Regions from separate parts of the Homo sapiens genome. Here regions 1, 2 and 3 are each linked to region 4. Evidence: promoter capture Hi-C in 16 types of primary human blood cells and fetal thymus (Javierre and others, 2016). All regions are on one chromosome and are shown on one strand. The core of a region is centred on a gene start or on the middle of the fragment in contact, and the rest is flanking DNA. Distances in the headings are between cores, read along the strand shown.

What was found. The method cuts DNA at HindIII sites, captures the fragments that hold promoters and counts their contacts. A CHiCAGO score of 5 or more calls a contact.
Region 1: a contact is called between a fragment that was not itself captured here and the fragment with the promoter of RAI14 in region 4, in 1 of 17 cell types (endothelial precursors). The highest score is 10.7, in endothelial precursors.
Region 2: a contact is called between a fragment that was not itself captured here and the fragment with the promoter of RAI14 in region 4, in 1 of 17 cell types (endothelial precursors). The highest score is 5.0, in endothelial precursors.
Region 3: a fragment that was not itself captured here is called in contact with the fragment with the promoter of RAI14 in region 4 in 2 of 17 cell types (endothelial precursors and naive B cells); the score reaches 7.4 in endothelial precursors.

What each region holds. Positions count from the first base shown.
Region 1 is chr5:34,552,387-34,557,730 of GRCh38, forward strand. No RefSeq gene overlaps it. Among named protein-coding and RNA genes, the nearest start is that of RAI14-DT, 100 kb to the right of the region's middle. The HindIII fragment of the contact is 1,599 bases long and covers 2,084-3,682 here.
Region 2 is chr5:34,718,828-34,724,570 of GRCh38, forward strand. The region is part of intron 2 of RAI14 (retinoic acid induced 14); the gene reads left to right. LOC124900960 (a long non-coding RNA gene) reads left to right here. Exons shown (of 3, transcript XR_007058730.1): 3 at 1-2,479. Among named protein-coding and RNA genes, the nearest start is that of RAI14, 65 kb to the left of the region's middle. RefSeq lists enhancers at 2,568-3,068, 3,069-3,569. The HindIII fragment of the contact is 7,021 bases long and covers 1-5,743 here.
Region 3 is chr5:34,749,495-34,755,467 of GRCh38, forward strand. The region is part of intron 2 of RAI14 (retinoic acid induced 14); the gene reads left to right. Among named protein-coding and RNA genes, the nearest start is that of TTC23L, 87 kb to the right of the region's middle. The HindIII fragment of the contact is 2,280 bases long and covers 3,489-5,768 here.
Region 4 is chr5:34,653,234-34,658,935 of GRCh38, forward strand. RAI14 (retinoic acid induced 14) reads left to right here and starts at 3,095. Exons shown (of 18, transcript NM_015577.3): 1 at 3,095-3,242. RAI14-DT (RAI14 divergent transcript) reads right to left here and starts at 2,940. Exons shown (of 3, transcript NR_183264.1): 1 at 2,760-2,940. RefSeq lists a silencer at 3,053-3,102. The HindIII fragment of the contact is 8,769 bases long and covers 2,121-5,702 here.

The sequences.
Region 1 (5,344 bases), core at 1,633-4,132, 100 kb before region 4:
GCGTTCCCCTTTTCTAATTATGGAAATCAGACTTAGGAAATCAAAATCAGTCAGAATTGGCTACTTATCCAAACTCCTCTCTCCTATCTATAAACGTACACAACCAGCTCTCTTAAAAATTATTTTATTTTTAAAGAGTGTGCAGTGCTGGAGTGGTGTAAGAGAGCAAAACAATAAAATATCCAGAAACAAAAATCCAGAATGGCATATGCTTTCCTGTGTGACCCTTTTGGGCCTGAATAGTGGCTCTTGTAAAAAGCTTCAAGTTTCCACCAGGTGTCCTGAATTTTCAGTCTCATTGGATTTTTTTCTTAATGTGGAAATTATTGTTTTTCATCTTACAAGAGAATACACTTAAAAACCAGTCCTCAGTACCCTTTTTGGAGATTGAGAAAACAGAGCCAGTGTGGCTTAAACAATTCCCTTCTCCCCAAAATGGAGGCCGGTGAAGACCATGTGACAGTGGGTGTCTTCAGCCTGACACGTGATATCCTACTCCCAGTGACAGCATCCATGAAACAGAATGGCATGGAGAGCATCAGCACCCTGCATAAAGGACAGCATCCCTCTTCATCAGCAGTGTCTAACCATTCATTCACCCAGGAAAAACTTACTGCACACCTACCTTCTCCTCAGAACTAGAAAACGATGATGAATCAGACCTGGTTCCTCCACTGTAGTGAACAGAAAGGCCCATCTGTCTCCCGCCTCCTAGAATAGACACTAGGCTTCCAGCGGCTTGACTGTCATTGTTACTGTCTATGGTAAGCATTTGTCATTCATTTTTGGCAGCTCAGCATCTGAGCCATTCTTCAATATTATGGGCAGCCCCTTTTGATGTCTTGGTGGGAAGCATGAGCCACTTCCAGTGACAGACTCTTGCTTTTTTAGCCTCCTTTGCAACTTGAATTAAGACACCTACAAGATGCCTAACCAGAGCATCTGTACTGGAGAGTGACTCAGGAGCTTCAGGGTCCACTGGCATCTACCCTACTGCAATGGAGGCAGAGGTGATGGTGACCTCCAGAGACAGTCACAGCAAGGTGGTGCAAGCAGCGGAGTCTTCTTAGGAATGGTTCTGCTGTGATATGGGAGGTTTATCCTGGCCACATGGGCTCCAGTCCTAGCTCTCTGGAGCTCCTGGAAATTTAGTTAATGACCTAATATTTTAATACACTTCTTACTGCTTAAATTGGCCAGGCTTGGTTTCAGCGGCTTGTGCTAAGATCTCTGACAAATACATCCCCTCAGACCCAAGTCTACAGCAGATATCTCTCAGCACCTAAGTATAAGAGATAGTAATGTGGTAGTGTGGGCGGCAGAGAGATTTGGGCAGAACGATGCAGAAAGCAAACCTTTATCTTTCTGCAAAATGTGTCAGAAGCTGACTCTACAAAATGGAAAGCTCTATTTGGCCTCAGACTTTCCATGTGACAATGCAGACATATGGCATTGGCCATAATACAAACATAGCATCCTTCAAGTTGCATATATTTAAATTAATCAAACTGCATTTTGTAATTCCTGTTGGTCCAGTAATCCTATTTCTAGGAACCTATTCCAAATAAATGAGCTATTGTTTCATTTCAAGAATATTTGTATTAGTCAAGGTTCTCCAGAGAAACAAAACTAATAGGATATAAACAGATATGTAGAAAGAGATTTATTGTGAGGAATTGCCTCATTCAATGATGGAGGCTTATAAATTCCATGATCTACCATCTGCAAGCTGGAGGCTTGGGAAAGCTGGTGGGATGGTGCCTCATGCCTGTAATCTTAGCACTTTGGGAGGCCGAGGCAGGTGGATTGCTTGAGCCCAGGAGTTCAAGACCAGCCTGGGCAACATGGCGAAACCCTATCTCTACTAAAAATACAAAAACTGAGATGGGAGGACCACCTGAGCCTGGAAAGGTTGAGGCTGTAATGAGTCGTGATAGTGCCACTGCACTCCAGCCTGGATGACAGAGTGAGCCTCCCGTCTCAAAAACAAACAAACAAACAAAATAGAAAATATAAAAAATACATTTTGGTTTCAAAATATGAATTTTGGGGAACAGAAACACCCAAACCATGGCAACATCGAAGCTTCATTAGTAATTCTTAAAGATTAGTGGCAATGTGAAGCCTGAAACCACATCAATGAACATTTATCCTCTGTTATAATAAAACCCATTGGTCTACATGGACTTTGAGTGGCTCTTTTACCTGCATAATTTTGTAACACAATGCACTGGTCATTTGGAAAATTTTGATCTTCAAAATGTTGGCACATTTTATTAATCAATATTTTAAAAATCACGTTTGTTAATATTATCATGGAGTTCATCCAAAAAAGGCTTTAATTATTTGTAAGCTGTCAAGCTCACAGTAGTGGATACAAGTTTCCCAAAATTCTTGTTTTTGCTGGAAAGCCCCAATTTTATTTTTGGCAACAAATACCGTCAGCTGGTTTTCCTGAAGTAATGGACACGGTTCATTTCTGAAAAAAAAATATTAGCCGAATATGCAAGTCTGAATAACCATTGTTTGTCCATCAGTTGTTCTTTCAGATAAAAATGCCGTTCTATGAAAAAAGGAGCAGTTCAGCTCACAGTTCAATGGCACAAATGCTGTTCCTCTAGACAACCAGTGAATATCAGTATGCAACCAAAGTGCTTGATGCGTGTCTCCCATTCCATCACGCAAAATATTTTAAAATGTGCATACTTTAAGGTCAAGGTTTAATACAGTTACTGATTTTTTATTTCATTAACAACACTCTTATGTGACACTGGCTTTGTTTTTTCTATGAGTGAGTGGTGGTGGCTGTTTGACTATTACCCACTATTGCATTTGCACCATCAGTGCAAATGTTAACACAGTGAAAAAGGCAGACAGCATCTTAGTATTATTATGAAAATAATTCTGACATCAGGATATCGTGAAAGAATCTTGGGGTCCCCCAGGGGTCAATAGACCTACTTTGAGAACCACTGCTCCAAACCTTGAAACCTTAAAGGAAGGGGAAGACTTTGACAGGCATCAAGAAATGAATGCCTGTGTCACAGTGGCCAGTTAGTGGAGGGGGCAGGACAAAGGCTAGGAAGGCAAGTAGATGCTAAATCATAGACAGCCTTTCGTACCAGGGAACAGAGCTTGGATGTTATCCTTGCAGAGTTTTTTTGTTTTTGTTTTTGTTTTTTTTGAGATGGAGACTCGCTGTGTTGCCCAGGCTGGAGTGCAGTGGCATGACCTCAGCTCACTGCAACCTCCGCCTGCCAGGTTCAAGAGATTCTCCTGCCTCAGCCTCCCAGGTAGCTGGGACTACAGGCACACACCACCAAACCCGGCTAGTTTTTGTATTGTTTGTAGAGACAGAGTTTCACCACGTCGGCCAGGCTAGTCTCAAGTAATCTGCCTGACCTCAAGTAATCCACCCGCCAAGGTGCTGAGATTACACGCATGAGCTATCACACCTGGCCTATCCTTGGAGATTTTAATAGCCATAGTTATCATTTGTTTATCACCAACTACGTGCCTGGCATTTTGCACACAGTAATTTGCACTTCACATTAATCCTGTGAGGCAAGTATTATCACTTCTATTTGGTGGAAGAGGAAGCTGAGAGTCAGAGCAGTTAAGTAACTTGCCCTAACTTGCAAAGCTAGCGACAGTAGAGAAGCCCAGGTAGATGTGGCTGCAAAGCTTGGATGACTTCCTTCATTCCCAACTTCCTCCCAAGCCATGTTTTTTAACCCTACTGAGTAGGATCCTGGAACATGTATGGTCCTAAAACATTTAGTCTGACATCAAACACTATGACTGTAAATTTTGTGTATTTATTCTGGGTTCCCTAAGGGCAAGGGTCAGGTCTATTTATATGCCCAGCATGCTGTGATCACTTAATAAATCTTTAACCACAAAGGTAGTGATTTTTATGGAGCCCAACTCCTCCTAGATTCCTTTCAGCTTTCTGTGAGTTTAAAATGTACACACCTGAGTGAGAAGATTTTTTTTTCCCCAGGAGGGGCACGGACACCCATATTTTCTAAACGGTGACTGTGTTCCTCAGTGACCACACAGCTGCTTCGCCACAATCATTCCTGCATAATTGTAAGGTAAGCAAATCTTGTCTTCTTCACCTTTTCACTTCCCCCTTCTTGAAGGAATGAATCTTACTCTGGAAGGAGATTGGACTTTGGAACAGGCTGACCTGAATTCAGATCCCAGCTCCACCACTGACAAACTGTGTAACCACTGGCAATGAATACAACCTCTCTCAGCCTCCGGTTCCCTATCAAAAACACCGTGGTAATACTGTTATCTTCAGAAAGTTGTTGAGAAGATTAAATAAAATTGTGTTAATAAACCAAAGCTCCTGGTGCCTTTTCTTTCCTCCACAATTCTCTCCCATCACTCAAACTATTTTTCAATCCAGCATTATCTATCTATGCTCATACCATGAGTTAGCATGCTCACCTTGCTATTACTTTAGAAATTATCCAATAAGCTAATAAAAATAACAAATGCAAAGCCTTGTTGATAAAGCCTGCGTTTCACCTCAGTGGGAACTCTAAAATGTGTTCCTCGATGCAAAAGGTTTTAATGGGTTCCCTGGTCAAATAATTCTGAGAAACACTGCAAACTAAATCTTCCTTTATGGATGGGCCAGGTTAGCCTGCTAATGACTCTGGGAAGTCCCAGAGAAAAGAAAACCTGTTTAACTTCATAGAACAGCTAAAAAAAATGTATGTGCACTGTTGAAGACTCTTTCCTGGTACAGTGGTCCCCTCTAACCGACGGTTTCCCTTTCAGTCACTGGCAGTCAACCCCCATGGAAAAATAAGTAAGCACAGTACAATAAGACATTTAGAGAAAGAGAGACTGCATTCACATATTATTATAATTGTTCTATTTCATTATGATTTTATTAATCTCTTACTGTGCCTAGTTTATAAATTAAACTTTATCGTAGGTATGTACATATAAGAACAGCATAATATACATAGGGTTCGGTACTATCTGCGGTTTCAGGGATTCACTGGGGGTCTTGGAATGTATCCGTTGCAGATAAGCAGGGACTACCATAATCATCCCCCCACCCTCACGAAAAGTTTCCCCTTAACACCATTTTAAGAAGCACTATCTTACTCCCAAACCTGTGATTCCCAAATGATGACATCTTAGGCATGGGGCAGTCACCAAGTAGACTAAGACACGTTAGCTCCCTTCTTGGGAGTCTATTGGCTCTGGATCTAAAAGCAAACCCCTAAAGGCTGGTACAGGTTGGACATCACATTGGTTTGATTGAAGGATAACTCAAATCTAAAACCTAAACATTTAAAGCACTTTTCAGTTTACGAAG
Region 2 (5,743 bases), core at 1,374-3,873, 65 kb after region 4:
TGTACCATGAATAGTGCCTGCGCAGGAAAGGTGGCACTTAAAATTTTTTCCCCACTTCTTGCCTACTCTCCCCACCTCCAGGACAGATTCAAGACCAGTAATGCACAAGATGAAAATCAATAAGTTAATTCTTTCTGCCTCTGAGCATTCATTTAGCCGGTACTGTATGTTCTAGTTAGTAGAGCTATTTGACAAATGACTACTACTTTTAGTGGCGTAAAACAAATCTTTATTACACTCACCAATTCTCTGGACAGGGTACAACAGGGACAGCTCGTCTCTGATCCGTGTTGTGGAACTTCAGCTGGGCAGACTGAAAGGATGGGGGCTAATTACCTGGTGGCTCATTCCCTCAGCATCTGACGGATAATGCTGGCTGTCACCTAAGACCTTAACTGAGGCTTTTGGCCAGAACGCTGGTGCCCCATTGGCCCTGGCTTTCTCACAGCATGGTGGCTGGGTTCCAAAAGGAAACATCCTGAGAGAGCTAAACGGAAACCTCATCCATCCCCTGTCATGGTCTAGCCTTGGAAATCATACAGCATCGCTTCTGCCACCTTCCATCCATTGAGATTGTCACAACATCCCGCTCATATTCAAAGGGAGGAGAAATAGATTATGCCTCTTGATGCAAGGTGGTTCTGGAGAGTATATGGGAACAGAAATCTTACCGCACCCTTTGTGGAAAATCTCTGCCACGGTATGTGAGCAGTTTGTAAATTTATAGAAAGGGACTCCTTGAATGTCCTTGCACTGCTCTTCCCTGAGTTACCGTGGTTGCACGCTGGACTAAAAGCTAAGACCTTAACACAAAGACCTGAAATATAGTATCTGAACTCTGTCCCAGGGCACGTGTCACCTTCTAGCTTTGAACTGGAGCCTGGGTTTTCATCTAAAAGCTGGCTTTTAGATGTCTGGTCAATGGCATGTCAGTAACTGAACTCTGCGCTATATGCTAGGTGGTAATATCAAGGTGTAAGACGCACCAGCGAAGCCAAGGGCTGACTTTCTTTCCAATTCAAAGATATTTTTTGTGGTAACTCTTTAAAATAAAGTCTTAAAATCAGCCCTAACCTGATTTTATTTCTGGACAAGAGCCATATTACCTGTACCCCACTTTGTCTCCATTACTAAAAGTTCACCAATTACATTGTCTTCCTAAGATTTAAAAAAAAATTTAAATAATTATAGAAAAAGTTGTAGTGTTTGGAAAGCTACCTTAGAAGGAGAAGAATTGGCCTCTAGTTAGGAATGAGAATTCTTCCTTATGATATTATGACAGTTACTTTCCCCAGTAAATATTTATTTCTTCTCAGAGCTTATTTGCAAGTGAGATATACTTAAAGCTAAACAAACGATTAGCTCACAAAGTGTTAAACCAAAAAGAAGTTTCGCAGAAAAAGAATGGACACATAATTTTAAAAATGTATATGTATCATATAGTTTGATTATGTGTAAACCAAAAATTTAAGGGAGGATGATGGGTTGTTTATCATTTATATGGAGTCAAGTTAGTCTATAAAATGTTCAATCGCTTCCAGACTCTGAAAGTCATTCTATGACCCTGTCTCAGATTTTTTTTTTTTTTTTTTTTTTTTTTTGAGATGGAGTCTCGCTCTGTCGCCCAGGCTGGAGTGCAGTGGCGCAATCTCGGCTCACTGGAAGCTCCACCTCCCGGGTTCATGCCATTCTCCTGCCTCAGCCTCCCGAGTAGCTGGGACTATAGGCGCCCGCCACCACGCCCAGCTAATTTTTTGTATTTTTAGTAGAGATGGGGTTTCACCGTGTTAGCCAGGGTGGTCTCGATCTCCTGACTTTGTGATCTGCCCACCTCGGCCTCCCAAAGTGCTGGGATTACAGGCGTGAGCCACCGCGCCCGGCAGATTTTTTTTTCTACTTGACTAATAAAAGTAATAGCGCTTTCATGAGGTCTCACTGGGCTGTTTGGAGTATGTGAGGGATAACAGAGGTGAAAAGTTTTTGGAAATCTGCATGTGCTATTCACATGTAAAGTTCTGGCTTTTATTTTTTACTTTTTTTACTTATTAGAGCTAGTTCTCACTATGTTGCCCAGGCTGGCCACAAACTCCTGGGCTCAAGTAATCCTCCGCGCTCAGCCTCCGGAGTAGCTGGAATTACAGGAGTGCACTGTAATTTTTGTTGTTGTTGCTATTATTAGTCAGAGGTGGGACTCCATGACAGCCCACAGAGAGGGGAGGAACAAAGACCTGCCTTCCCACATGGGTTCTCTTCCCCTATTTCTTATATTTCCCCTTCTTCCTTCTCCTCTCTTAAGTCTCTTTCTTCCCATTGCCTTTTTTTCCTTCCCTGTCTTCTGTAAGGTCTTCGGCCTCCCGTTGTTGTCCATAGATATTGCTTCTGGTATCTGGACTCTGAATGCCTTGTGATCAAAACTATGTTGTTTATATAGATATGTGTGTGTATGTATGTAGATGTAGATGTGTATATATATATATATATATATATATATATATATAGATGTGTATGTATGTATATTGTATACATACATATAAAATATGTACATATATTTATGTACATAAATATGTAGATATGTAAAATATGTACATATGTTAAAAATAATACAAGGATCTCACATCATGCCTAGTCCAGAGCTCAAGAGGGATGTAGCAACTAAATGTATTATGACCATCTAGATTGCAGGGAAAATCATTAGCCAGGCTCAAAAAAGTAAACCTCTGCTGCTTTCTAGATTGAGCAATACACAAGATATTGTTCATGTGGCAAATCAATGCCAGCAATTCCGTGTCTGCCTTTATGGCTTGGACTTAGGGCTTTTATTTTAAATGATTTCTTATTTTCTCTGCCAACTGGTCTCTAAATATAAGTTCGTGTTTTTCTTGAACGGACACTTTTTTTTTTGAGGTGGAGCCTTGCCCTGTCACCCAGGCTGGAATGCAGTGATGGAATCTATGCTCACTGCAGCCTCTGCTTCCTGGGTTCAAGCGGTTCTCCTGACTCAGCCTCCCAAGTAGCTGGGCTTACAGGTGCGTGCCACCACGCCCAGCTGTTTTGTAGTTTTAGTAGAGCCAGGGTTTCACCATGTTGGCCAGGCTGGTCTTGAACTCCTGACCTCAGGTAATCCACCCACCTCGGCCTCCCAGAGTGCTGGGATTATTACAGGCGTGAGCCACTGTGCCTGGCCTTGGCTGGACACTTTTAACTGCTCTAGAAGAGAGCTGTTCTTTTGGTGTCTCGCCCTGAAAGTGAGTTTTATGTATGCCATGTAGTCTATATGTAGATCTTTTCAGATAGACCCTTTGTTATGAGCTGAGTTGTGGCCCCGCCCACCCCCAAAGTGATATGTTGAAATCCAAACCCCCAGTTCCTCAGACTGTCACTGTATTTGGACATAAAGTTAACATGAGGCCTTTAGGGTGGGCCCTAATCTAGTATGACTAGTATCCTTATACAAGGAGAAAATTTGGACTCATGAAGAGACACACACAAGGGATGTACATGCACAGAGAAAAGTCCATGTGGTGACACAGTGAGCAGCTGTCTGCAAGCCAAGGCAAGAGGTCCCAGGAGACATCAGCCTGCTGGGTGACACTTTGATCTTGGATTTCCAGCCTCCAGTCTGTGGGATTTTGTAATGGCAGCTCTAGAAGACTAACATCCCCTCCGGTTTTAGTGAAAATTTGTAAAGCATTGTTGTGTGATGTGGTGACAAGCAGAGAAATACAAACTTAATCTCTGCCAGGCGTGATGGCTCATGCCTGTAATCCCAGCACTTTGGGAGGCTGAGGCGGGCAGATCATTGGAGGTCAGGAGTTCGGTACCAGCCTGGCCAGCATGGTGAAACCCCGTCTCTACTAAAAATTCAAAAATTAGCTGGGTGTGGTGTTGTGCTCTTGTAATTCCAGCTACTTGGGGGGCTGAGGCAGGAGAATCACTTGAACCAGGGAGGTGGAGGTTGCAGTGAGCCAAGATTGCGCCACTTTGGGAATCCCAGCACTTTGGGAGGCTGAGGTGGGCAGATCACTGGAGGTCAGGAATTTGAGACCAGCCTGACCAACATGGTGAAACCCCGTTTCTACTAAAAATACAAAAATGTATAAATAAATTAAAAAAAATACAAAAATTAGCCAGGCATGGTGGTATGCACTTATAATTGCAGCTACTCAGGAGGCTGAGGCAGGAGAATCGCTTGAAACTGGGAGGCAGAGGTTGCAGTGAGCCAAGATTGCACCACTGCACTCCAGCCTGGGCGACAGAGTGAGACCCTGTCTCAAAAAAAAAAAAAAAAAAACCCACTTCATCTTATTTTATGGATCCACTGTGGAGTGATGGTGAGGGTATATATTAGAGTTCTCCAGAGAAACACAACCAATAGGATGTTTATCTATATACCTATATATAGATGTGTATATAGGATGTTTATTTATCTATAGAGAGAAAAAAAAAGGAGATTGATTGATTCTAAGGAATTGGCTCATGTGATTGTGGGCTGGCAGAATCGGAATCTGTAGGGCAGCCTGACAGGCTGGAGACTTCAAAGAAGAGTTGGTATTTCAAGTCAAAATGCAGTTTGGAGACAGAATACCTTTTTTGTGTGAGATCTAAGTCTTTTGGTCTTCAACTATTCGGATGAAGCCCACGTACATTATGGAAGGTGCTCCTCTTTACTCAAAGTTTACCGATTTAAGTGTTAATCATATCTAAAAAGTACATTCACAGCAATATCTAGACTGGTGTTTGACCAAATAACTGCACCGTAGTTTAGCCACCTTGACACATAACATTAACCGTCGCATAGTGGAGATGAGGAAGTGGTAGTCTGGGCCTACGTTATATAAGAATAGTGAAATTTCACCTGATTTAAGGAAAGCTAAATGTTAAATGTTAACAATGTGTTTTTACATGTATAACATCACTTAATTATTTGAATCAACCTTTTGTTTTAATACATGAGTGAGTTGACCATATATTTAGTTTTAATATACTCATCACCCATAAATTTCTGTTGATGATATAAGCATTACGTGTGATATAGGCTGTGGACTGGTATTTACATATGCTTCAAAATTTCAATACTCATGCTAGGAAATTGCTTGGTCTATGCTTTTTTGCCTTGGTGTGACTTTTTGCCTTAAGTATTATTATTATCTTTATTATGGCATAAAGCAGTATTTTATACACTAACTCCTTTTATTTATTTATTTTTGAGACGGAGTTTTCACTCTGTTGCCCAGGCTGGAGTGCGGTGGCGCAATCTCGGCTCACTGCAAACTCTGCCTCCTGGATTCAAGAGATTCTCCTGCCTCAGCCTCCTGAGTAGCTGGGATTACAGGCATGCACTACCACATCCAGCTAATTTTTGTATTTTAGTAGAGTCGGGCTTTCACCATGTTGGCCAAGCTGGTCTTGAACTCCTGACCTCAAGTGATCCACCTGCCTCAGCCTCCCAAAGTGCTGGGATTACAGGTGTGAGCCACCACACCCGGCCTAGTTGTTCCTTTCTAGAGGACAGATCCATATCCTTTAAATCTGCTTGATAAGATACCCATTTCTATCCAGATAATGAAATGTTTTGGTTATTAAAGTATGCCCGGTATTTGGGCAAAACTAGAATCTAATAAATTGTAACCCACAAATCATATGTGGGCTATCAGTGAACACTTTCCCCTAACTCCCCATGGCGTGACAGGAAGCCATGGAGAATAAGAGTAAAGTGATAAAACTGGCAAGTGGACCGAGAAAT
Region 3 (5,973 bases), core at 3,379-5,878, 98 kb after region 4:
GGGCAGACACTGCCGGTTGCCAAATCCCCAGCGTTCATCACCCGGTTGACATGATGTTTGCTATTCTAGATGGAGGCAGGCAAGGCTTCAAAAAGGCCAAGCTTCAAGAGAAAACCTTTAAGTAAGTCAGTGTCATTTGGAAATGATTTGATGAATAGGAAACTTACCGGCCAGCCAATATCATTTGTGATATATTAGCAGGAATGTTTGGAGCCCATATTGAGGGTAAGGGCTCTTTCCCACATGCCGCCCTTCATAGCTGACACATTACACATGTCTCTGCAGCATAACATATGGCTTCCTGAACTTGCAAGTATGGCTTAATGTTCTCTGTTGAAATCGTGTCTGTTTAAACAGTCTCTTGGAAAAGTGAGCCATATTCAATAAAATCATTAATTTCATGTCTGTGAATGTTTCTCTAGAGCCCTTTAAAATATGATTTTGAAGGAGCATAGTAGAAAATTTGCATTAAGCTGTTATCAGCCTCTAAAAGGGTATTGGACTATCAGTCCTAAATTGTAAATATTAAAATATTCATAGAACATTAGTCAAGAAGGAACAGTGCAGCTCATCAAATTCCAGAAGAATCACCATTTTAGGTACCTAGTATGTGCCTGGCTGTTTATGTATGCTGCATCTGATTCTCAGGATAATTTACAAGTAGGGGGGATTTCCTGCCATTTATAGATAAGGACAGGGAGGCCCAGGGACACGGATGACCACCTAGAAGTGATGGAACTGGAATTTCAACTCAATAGCACCGAACTCTGAAGTCTGTCTCTTCTTTTCTACACCAGGAATTTTAAACTTGGGCTTAGGAGTGGGCTGGGTGGGGGTAGATATTTAGGCCAGAAATCATATGCAAGTTTTTGTGTGGATGTGCATTATTCTGAGGAATGTCTGTAACTGTACCAGATTCTCCAGGGGGTCCATGAGGCCTCCAGAAGATTAAGAACCAGATTTTGGCGCCACTCTGCCTTTTTTTTTAAGCGACGAGGAAACAGCAAGTGAGACTGAACCGTTCGAAGGCGTTTGACCTGGTGTTGACCAAAAACTGAAGCACAGGACTTCTTTCTAAATTCTGTGTGTATGTGTTTTGTATGCCTCAAGGGGGATGGTGAGGGAAGGAGAAGGAAATAAAAGAAATAAATCACATATGGAGAAAAGTACACAAAACCATGTACGTTCTAACAAGTAGTTATAAAGTGAGCATCTGAGGAGCTGCTAATCAGACCCTAAAACAGAGCAAGTCCCAGAATGGCCCCGGGTGTCCCTTCCTGATAGGATGCCACACCTTCACCCCTAATCATGACCCTTACTTTTATACTGACCTTATCCTTACTTTGCTTTATCATTTTTTTTTTTTTTTTTTTTTGAGGTGGAGTTTTGCTCTTGTCGCCCAGGCTGGAGTGCAATGGTGCGATCTCAGCTCACCACAACCTTTGCCTCCCAGGTTCAAGTGATTCTCCTGCCTCAGCATCCCGAGTAGCGGGGATTACAGGCTACGCCACCATGCCTGGCTCATTTTGGATTTTTAGTAGAGACAGGGTTTCTCCATGTTGGTCAGGCTGGTCTCGAACTCCCGAACTCAGGTGATCCGCCTGCCTTAGCCTCCCAAAGTGCTGGCATTACAGGTGTGAGCCACCGCGCCCGGCCATAATTTTTTTTTTTTTTTTTAATTTGAGATGGAGTCTCCCTCTTGTCGCCCAGGCTGGAGTGCTTACTGCAACCTCTGCCTCCTGGGTTCAAGCGATTCTCCTGCCTCAGCCTCCCGAGAAGCTGGGATTATAGGTGCCCGCCATGCCTGGCTAATTTTTTTGTACTTTTAGTAGAGACGGGGGTTTCACCATGTTGGTCAGGCTGGTCTCGAACTCCTGACCTCAAGTGATCTGCCCACCTCGGCCTCCCAAAGTGTTGGGATTACAGGTGTGAGCCACCTCACCCAGGCTATAATTTTATCATCTGTATATACATCCCTAAACACTATGGTTCCATGTTTCCTGTTTCTATCTTTATGTGCATGCAGTCATACTATTGTGGGTTTTCTTGTGTGTGTCTTGCTTCTTTCAACAGTACTGTTTTTAATACCCATCTGTGCTGTTGTACCTAGTTGTAGTTTGTTCATTTTCATTGCTGTGTGTTATTCTGTTGCTTGACGACGTGATAATTTATCCGTCGTTTGTTATTGGAAATTTGGGTTATTTGTAATTCTTGCCTGTTATGAGCGATGCTTTCGTTGACATTCTAATGCATGTCTTATACACAGGTTGGGGAAAGACCAATATTTACTCAGCTTTTATGGGAAACAAAATACCTAGTTCTACAAGAAAATAGTGAAGAATTCTTCTCTTCACAGGCCTGCTTCCTTAATGCCTTGTGGAAGAAGAAAATTCTTTCAAGTGAATTCTCCTGTTAGTCTTAACATAGGTTCCAGTTGTCCTCAAGTTAGCAATAAAAATCAAAGGATGCACTCGTTGAACCTAAGTGATTCCAGGGCTCCACCCCAGACTCCTGGGGTCAGAGTCTGCTAGATGGGGCTTGGGAGTCTGCAGATTTAACAAGCACCCAGGTGATTCTTGTGACTGGGAGACATCGCGTTCACCCTGATTGAATTTATAAGGCTGGGCTCCTTAGTTGGGAAGAGATTTGAAGAAAGTATTTGCATGATTAAAATCTTGGAAAATTGGCCTTTTAAAAAAGTTAAGGGAGTTGGATTTATTTAGCCTATAAAAAAACCTGAAACACGATTTAATAGTTGTTTGCAAAAGAATGAAACTTTTGTAAATGAAAAAACAAATATTTGCTAAGTCGAGAGTGATTTAGGCCAATCAACCTCCTGCTAAAATCAGCAGCAAATACTGAGCACCATGGGGGTAAGAAATGAAGACTGTTCTCAGGGCCTTCAGGGAGCTAAACACAGGAGAAAAACCGTAAGCTCTCGAACAAAAACCAGGATGCGATATTTCATCAAGTCTAGACTGTGGGCTTCGGTTGAGATGAGCGAGTGGATGGCCCCCAGGGACGCAATGGAGTAGAGAAACAGAGAGAGGCCACCAGGAAAGGGTGGAGAGGGCCCGCGGGGCTTGAGCTAGGCTTTCGAAATACGCCTTTGCTTAGGCAGATGGGGTGACAGAGCATTCTGAAGCAGTGGCTGCCAGTGTTTTTTCTTGTGATCCTCCAGTAAGAAATATCTATATTTCTTACATATATGTGTGTGTGTGTGTGTGTGTGTGTGTGTGTGTGTGTGTGTGTGTGTATATATATATATATATGTATCTTTTCTTTTTTTTTGAGACAAGGTCTTGGGTTGTCGCCCAGGTTGGAGTGCGGTGGTGCAATCTCGGTTCACTGCAACCTCCACCTCCCGGGTTCAAACGATTCTCCTGCCTCAGAATCCCAAGTAGCTGGGATCACAGGCACGAGCCACCGTGCCCAGTCCAGAAATGTATTTTATATCAGTCAGGATACACATACATGTAATAAATAAAAGCTTCATAAGACATTTAACTTTATTAAAGGTGGTACATCTGATGTTTTCTATTTTATTTTTTTAACATGTGAGGTTAACCGATAAACTATACAGCTTTCATAGAGTTGAAAACTATAAGAGGACCAGAAGCCCAGGGTGGAGGCAGAATCAGTCCTGTCCTATGGAGGGCATGCTAGTTAGAGGAGAGGATTTTCATGGAAAGTGGTGAGAGGTAATTTTGTTAGTTTGATGGTGGTCTCCAAAAGCCTTCTTTGATTCTAGAGTATGAATGAATTACTTTGGGATGTTATGATAAAATTTCAAACTTTACCTATTTATTTGACCAGCTCTACTTTTGGACAGTAGATTGACCAAAGTGACTTTTTGAGATTTTTTTTGATGCTTGGGGGTGGGGGTAGGGGAGAGGATTTGCTTCTGGATTCCAAAGAATGACTCAAAGTGCTTATTGAACATCTGTTTTGTCTCATGTTGTGATTGGCTATGGGAATTTTGGTATAGAAAATGGCACTGGAGCCAGGCACGGTGGCTCACACGCCTGTAATCCCAGCACTTTGGGAGGCCAAGGTGGGAGGATCACTTGAGGTCAGGAGTTCAAGACCAGCCTGGCCAATGTGGTGAAACCCCATCTCTACTGAAAATACAAAAATTGGGCCAGGTATTGTGAGTCACACCTATAATCCCAGCACTTTGGGAGGCCACGGTGGGCAGATCACGAGGTCAAGCGCTCAAGACCATCCTGGCTAACATGGTGAAACCCCACCTCTACTAAAAATACAAAAATTAGCTGGGCGTGGTGGCATGTGCCTGTAGTCCCAGCTACTCGGGAGGCTGAGGCAGGAAAATCGCTTGAACCCAGGAAGCGGAGGTTGCAGTGAGCTGAGATTGCACCACTGCACTCCAGCCTGGTGACAGAGCGAGACTCTATCTCAAAAAAAAAAAAAAAAAAATTAGCCAGGCATGGTGGCAGATGCCTGTAATCCCAGCTACCCAGGAGGCTGGGGCAGGAGAGTCGCTTGAACCCAGGAGGCAGAGGTTGCAGTGAGCCAAGATCGTGCCACTGCACTCCAGGCTGGGCAACAAGGTGAGACTCCATCTCAAAAGAAAGAAAAAAAAAAGAGTATGGCACTGGATAGAATAGTTTTATAGGAGAGGATGAGAGGATGTAGGAAATATCTCCGTGGGCAAGTTTAGGAAGGAAAACTGATGGCCTCTTTATCACTGTGCTTCTGGAAGGAGCATGATATGGCCAGTTGTGCATATCAGAGCTAATTGCAAGTATGATTAGTGGCCTGGCCCAGGACTAGACAACTCTGCTATTTGATCAGAATCCAGATTCCTGGATCAGACGTCTAATTGGGACCCTACTTGGCCTCTAGTTTTAGCATGCTTGTGAGAATTTTAAGAGCAAAACTCTTCTTAAAATTTTTTATTTTTAGAGATGGCGTCTCACTGTGTTGCCCAGAGTGGTCTCGAACTCAAGCAATCCTTCTGCTTTGGCCTCCCCAGTAGCTGGGATTACAGTTATGAGCTACCACGCCCAGGCTCTTACCTTCCCTCCTCTTTTCCCAACCTAGCTCTGCTTACTGTGAACCCCATCTGCAGCACTTCTTGAATGGTGTTGTGGATTATTTATTGAAGATTTGCTTGTGTAGCCATGTTCTCTTCATCTGCTCCAAGAGAAAAGTAAATTCTGGCCTGCACTGAAAAGAGGCTCTAGATAGAAGAGAGGCATTTCAGACCACTAGGAATGTTGCATTGACCTTGTCTTCCAAAGAGCAGGATAGGGAAGATCTCTCCTGCCATGTCTTATAGAAACTGAACTCCCTTAAAGATCCATGTGGAACGAATTTTAGGGAACCCCTGCAATCAGATTTTTCTCTACCTAAGAGTAGAGTGCCTTAGCAACGTTGAAAAGGAAAATCCTTTCATGCGGCCGTTCCTTTGCTTGAATACTTTCAGTCCTGTCCTCTGAGATTTGATCATATCCTTTTGATCTTCCCAGTCCAGTTTTAATTTGTTCAGTTTAGGTTAGAAAAGGATTTGGAAAAACAATACTTTTCTCTTTTAGGATTCTATAGGTAGGGATCATTGGTCCTAAATGTTCTTCCCTTTTTTCTTTGCTTGTAAAGTGCACTCTGGGGGAATAAGCTGCACTGTGTTTCTTGGGGCTTGATCATTTGCTGTAGTTGTTTGTACAGTTGTTAAGTTACGCTTTCTATTCTACTAACAAATGATGGTGTGAGGAACGCCATATTTCTTATGTTTCCCTTCAACAGGAAGCTTGATTGGTAACTAAAGACAAAAATCTCATTTCTTTGTGAGTAAATTGCTGTAGTAGGAGCGTGGCTGATGTTGGTCCAGACACATTCTTACTTTGTTAAACCTATGAGGAGAGTCATCAAGGAGAGCTGCACTGGTCTACATGGTGGCCTCTGGCTAACGTCACGTGAAGTCTCGAGGTTAAAAATTCACTTCTTCAGTAG
Region 4 (5,702 bases), core at 1,845-4,344:
ATCAAGATACTCATAATCTAAGAAGAACCAGTATTGATGAAGGATGAGCAAGGAAAAAGGGATGATATCATTTAATCTCAAGAATAAAAATTGAGCCCACTCAATCAATGAATTTCATTTGTGATGTCCTGGATGGCAACACTCTTTGGAGTTTACAATTGTATTGCTTTGACAAGACTGACCTGCTAGTGTGATCAGAAAACAATGTTTCGTCATGAAATGACAGGGCAGTTTTGCTTATGAAGGGTCTACAAACTAAGAGAATAGGTTTAGGATGTCAGAACTGAAAAAGATCGGGTATGGTGGCACATGCCTGTAATCCCAGCACTTTGGGAGGCCGAGGCAGGCAGATCGCTTGAGCCCAGGAGTTCGAGACCAGTCTGGGCAACATGGCGTAACCCTGTCTCTACCAAAAGTACAAAAAAAAAAAAAAAAAAAAAATTACCGGGTGTGGTGGCCCACACCTGTAGTCCCAGCTAGTGAGGTGGGACCTGGGGGCTGAGGTGGGAGGAAAGCTTCAGCTTGGAGGTTGAGGCTGCAGTGAGCCATGATTGTGCCACTGCACTCCTGCCTGGGCACCAAAGTGAGACAAAGATAGAAAGAAGACAGAGAGAGAGAGAGAAAGGAAGGAAGGAAGGAAGGAAGGAAAAAAAGGAAAAGAAGGAAAGAGAGAAAAAAGAAAACAAAAGAAAAGAAAGATCTTGGAGGTCATGTACTTTGATGTTCCCTTCTACTAATGAGGAAAGGGGGAACAGGGGAAGTTAAAACCCTTGGTGAAGGTCAAATGGCAAGTAAGCAAAAGAAATGGGTCAGGAAACCCAGTCTCCTTGCTCTTGGTGCTCATGGCACTACATATTACACTGCTGTTACCTTGATATTTGGATAAAGGAATGCAACATACTGCTCCTCCCAAAAGGTTTTACTACTTTACACAGGTTAGCTGGTCATTTTATTTTTGCTTCTTTAACTCAACCCCTTTCACCTGGGCCTAGTTCTCATCAAAGGGTGGTATTCAATGTATCCAATGAACCCAATTAGCATTTCTAAAACGCCTGGGCAACACAACCAATAAGAAGATGCTATTGAACCTCTTACTTCCCCACTAATCCCCCTGCAGTTGGCAGAACTTAGCTGCCATGCTCAGTCTACAGACTACAAAGTTGCTTTGAGTTTCAAAAGTGGGGATCTGGAAAAGGATCTTGGCACAGCCCAAAAAAATAAGAATACTTTCACAACGATCCCTCATCCAGAGTTAGACTTGCTGACTTTAGAGGGTGGGAGTGTAAACTAAGGAGAATCATATACAAACCACCTATGGGAATCTAAGAGGTGATAGGCTGGTAGGCTCTTTGGAGGTGGCTGGGACAGAGAAAAAAGAAGAGGGACAGGACCTCTGTGAATCAAAGTCAGATGTGCCTGCCTTAGACAATCATTGTTTAATGTTGTCTAATATTTTAACTCCTTCAAAATGTCAACTGTTCCTACAGAATACACACATGTCAAATTTCCAAGACAGCATCATCTACCTGTACCATGCTCCAAATCCCATCCTCCCAGCTGCCCCTACTTGAACCAGACTGACCTGCAAAAATAGAGCAGAAAACTCACAGGCAGTAATGTTCCCCTTAAATACCCTACAATATGTCATTAACAAGAATCACGATGAAACACTATTGTAGAAATTGCCAGCATTAAACCAAAAGAATGTTGGTCAGTTCATGTTTCTTTTACAGTGTGACTTTGTTTGAGAGGGATAAAGGACAGGAAGAGGAGTGTACATCTTGCTTTAGCTGTTCCTCACTTGGCTAAGGAACTTTTGCTGTAGGAAGTGAAGACCCTGCACCTAGTTACAAGGCTTTTGATGCTTGTTTGTCAAGTTCAACTGTTAAAGGGGAGATAGGCTCTTCCCTAGTAGGGAGAGGGAGGAAGGAAAGGGGGATGGGGCGGGGGGAGGGAACAGGTAATATCTGCCATATAAATATTAGTATGTAGCTGACACGTTATAAACTGAGCTGTTAGGGTGAATTTCAATTTTGTTGGAATCGACCTTTTTTCCCTCTTAAGTTCAATTGACTTACAGTAGATCCCAGAAAGAACTCAATACGTTATTTATTCTAGAAAGCTTTCTTCCCTGAGCAAAGGAGGCAGAGCTAACGAGGAGAAGGGAGGAGCTTAGGTGAACAGAACTGAAGTCACAGCTGGTTAGCATGACTAGAATGCATGGAAAAGCCAGCCCAAATTAGATGAGTGGGTAGATAGAGAGCTTTGAAATCCTTGGAATTAATGGTGGAGTCCATCGTAATTGAAAGGTCGGGCCTTAGTGGGCTGGGATAGGGAGAGAAGCTGTCGGGGACCTGGGGCAGTGAGCCTGTACCCCGTGGCTTCTCACACACTATTTTGAAGGCGTTCCCATGCGCAATCTCGCCTGTCAGTTCAGGCTGTAGGTTTCTCCTTTCTAACTCCTGAGCAGAACAACACTGAACGGTGGTAGTCTTGCCTTGCCACCCAATGAGTGCTAGAAAACAGTCACTTCAACCAATTGGTTCAGTCCGGAGAACGTGAGCACATTCTACTTTACTTTCTGTTCAATGATTTTGGAAAACAACCTTTTAGATTCTGGTCAGAAGGGGCTTGGATCCGTGACTTTGAAACACTCGCCACTACCACAAACGACTTTGGAAGTTAATCAGAAATAAACAGTATCTGGGATCTCATCCGTCCTAAACCCAGGGGTCAGAGCGTGGGGGGCTTCCACTAACTTCAGGTTAAGAGGATGAAACAGATCCGCGGAGAAGGGTCCCACGATCCCTGGAGACTAAAAGCAAGCCACGAACAGCCGGGACGCGCGGGCCGGGGAGATGCGCCGGGGGCTGGAGGGCGGAGAGCACCCCCCGCAGGTCCCGGCCAGAGCCCGGGGCCGGGTCACCTGACTCGCGGAATTTGGGGCCGCGAGGGGTGGAATGGGAGGGGAATGGTTAGCGCCTCCCTTCCCGCTCCCACTGGATCCAGGTCGGCGGGGGCCGGCGCCCGGCGGCCACGTGGTGGTGCTGCCGCTGCCCCCGCCCCGCCGGCCTAGCCCGGGAGCTCGGCGCCCACTGACCCCCGCAGCGGGGGAGGAGGAGGGACTGCGGCGCAGGAAGCCGAGCAGGAAGCGAGCCCGGCGGCCGCGTTTTCCTGGGGAAGCGGCGGGCGGGGTGGAGCAGCCAGCTGGGTCCGGGGAGCGCCGCCGCCGCCTCGATGGGGTGAGTGCGCGGCACGGAGTTGGGAGGCTCCCGGCGCGGGGTCCCGGGCTCGTGTCCCCGCCTTTGTGTCTGGAGCTCGGGCGCGGGAGGCGCTGGGGACGGCGCCCGGGCGGAGCGGCTGAGCGGGCTGCAGCCGGGGTCCCGCCACCTCTCCCTGGTCCACCGCCGGCAGCCCACTGTCTGCGGAGAGCAGATCTGGGGACAAGAGGAAGGAGAGGAAGGTGGAGATGAGGGTAGAGCGGGAAGACCCGGCCAAGTTAGGAGAAGGGTTCTTCCCGGGTCCTCCGCGACTCGCAGGCCGGCTGGGGCGGGGCGCGGGGCAGGGGCCGCGGCGGAGGGAGCGCGGGTGGGAATGAATGAGCAGACCCGGAGATGCACCCTGGAGTCTGCGCCGGGTCCCACCTGTTTCGCCCCGCGCGGCGCCTCGCTGCCCCCGCGTCGGTGCTGCTGAGCCCAATCCGCCTCCCGGCTGAACTTGGAGGAGGTGGGGAGGGAGGTGCGAGCGGGAGACTCCGGGTGGCTCCCAGGACGCGGGGTCCGCTATTGTTCCTCCTCTGACTCCAGGGAGCCCCTCGGCCGGCCCAAGGGCGGGGGCGAGACCCCTCTGGGCCTGCCCCTGCCCCCTACCTTGTTTTCCCCGCCGCAGCTCGGGGAGAACGGATGCTGGAGTTGGGGCAGACTCGGGGCCGCCGGGACTTCGGGAGTAAGGAGGACGTGGAGCCACCAGAAAGGCGCCCGCCATCTCCCGCGACCCCTGCCTGGTGGGGGGTGGGGGGTGGGGTGTCGTCCTCAACCACCTTCGCTGCCTTCTTGGGCAGGTTGGTGTCGGTTTAGTTTCTGCGGTTTGCAGGGTTGACATCCTAACTCCTTTGAGTTTCGCATCCCCCTTTTGTGGAGGGGGCTCAGAGCCTGGAGAAGCAACAGACGGGGAATTAAGGCAGATGCAGCCCAGCACAGCGTGGAGGGGTCCGAAGTGGCCTCACGGGGGCCTGAGCATGGCTGTCTTTCCAGGCTCCTCTTTATTTGCCAGGAGCCCAGCTAAGCCCAACTTTACTCCCAGAAATGTTGAGGGGAATCTGCGGACTCGAGGCCCCTCGCCTCGGGACCAGCGGCTTCTCTTCGCCGCAGCTCACGCATGATCGGGGTGGGATTCCGTCTTCCTTCCGGGAGAGGAGAATGCCCAGCTGCCTGGGATGGGGAAACGTTGCCGGATCTCTGGGGAATGTGGTCTCAAGGCTGCAGGGGCCTGGCAGAGAGGAACTGTCCATCACTAGGACATAGCCGAAGCTCGCCTTAGCGAAGAGAGTCTCACCTCCTCGGGCTTTGCACAGAGTTGGAGAAGAGGTCGGGAATCACAGGGAGGCTGGATTTTGGCTGCTCTGTCCCCAGCCTGCAGGTCCCTGTTCGCCCTGTGGCTCGGAATTTTATTACTGATGTATATAATCTGATAATCTTTTCTTAATGATGCCTAACAAGTGTGATTTTTTTCCCCCTTGGGTTTGTAAGACAGTTGATTTTATGTGAGGAGATTGATCCAGTTCTTATATTTTAGCCAGTGCTTGTCTAACAGAGATTGGGAGAGCTATCCCGTGCTGGGCTGTTGCACAGTTTTCATCTCCATTCACTGAGATGCTTCAGTAATGAATTTATTGTTTTATGGCTTTTTGGAGATGGTGGTGGTGGTGGTGTGATTATAACCCTGCTGGAAAATCTTATTACTGTTATCTGAATTGAAGAGACAGAAAGGATGCTGAGCCCCCTAGGGATTCCGTAGGGGAATGATGTAGTGTCCCGCCCACCAGTAGTGAACCTGACAGTGAAATTCTCTCTCCAGTCTGCTAGTTTTCAAAGCATGTTCTAGGCAGGTACACGTACTATCACCTAGGCTTTAAAAGTGAAGAAGCAGATTTGGAGGTTAAGAACAACTGGGCCTTGGAATTAATAGAATGCAGTGGACAACTTTTGCCTCTCCTTCCTCCACCCCCTCCCTCCCTTCCTTCTTTCCTTTTTTTTCATCCTTTAAAAATAAAAATAAGGGCCAGGCATGGTGCTTATGCCTGTAATCCCAGCACTTTGGGAGGCCGAGGCAGGCGGATCATGAGGTCAGGAGATCGAGACCATCCTGGCCAACACAGTGAAACCCCGTCTCTACTAAAAATACAAAAAATAAAAATTAGCTGGGCGTGGTGGCACGCACTTGTAATCCCAGCTACTTGAGAGGCTGAGGCAGGAGAATCGCTTGAACCCGGGAGGTGGAGGTTGCAGTGAGCTGGGATTGCGCCACTGCACTCCAACCTGGCGACAGAGCAAGACTCTGTCTCAAATAAATAAATAAATAAATAAGTATGAAATATTTCTAACATACATAAAAACAGAGTATAGTAAGCCATTTTGTCTTCTACTTCCTAGGTTTAATAGTTGCTAATATTTTCATATTTGATCCATACCTCTCCCCCCCCG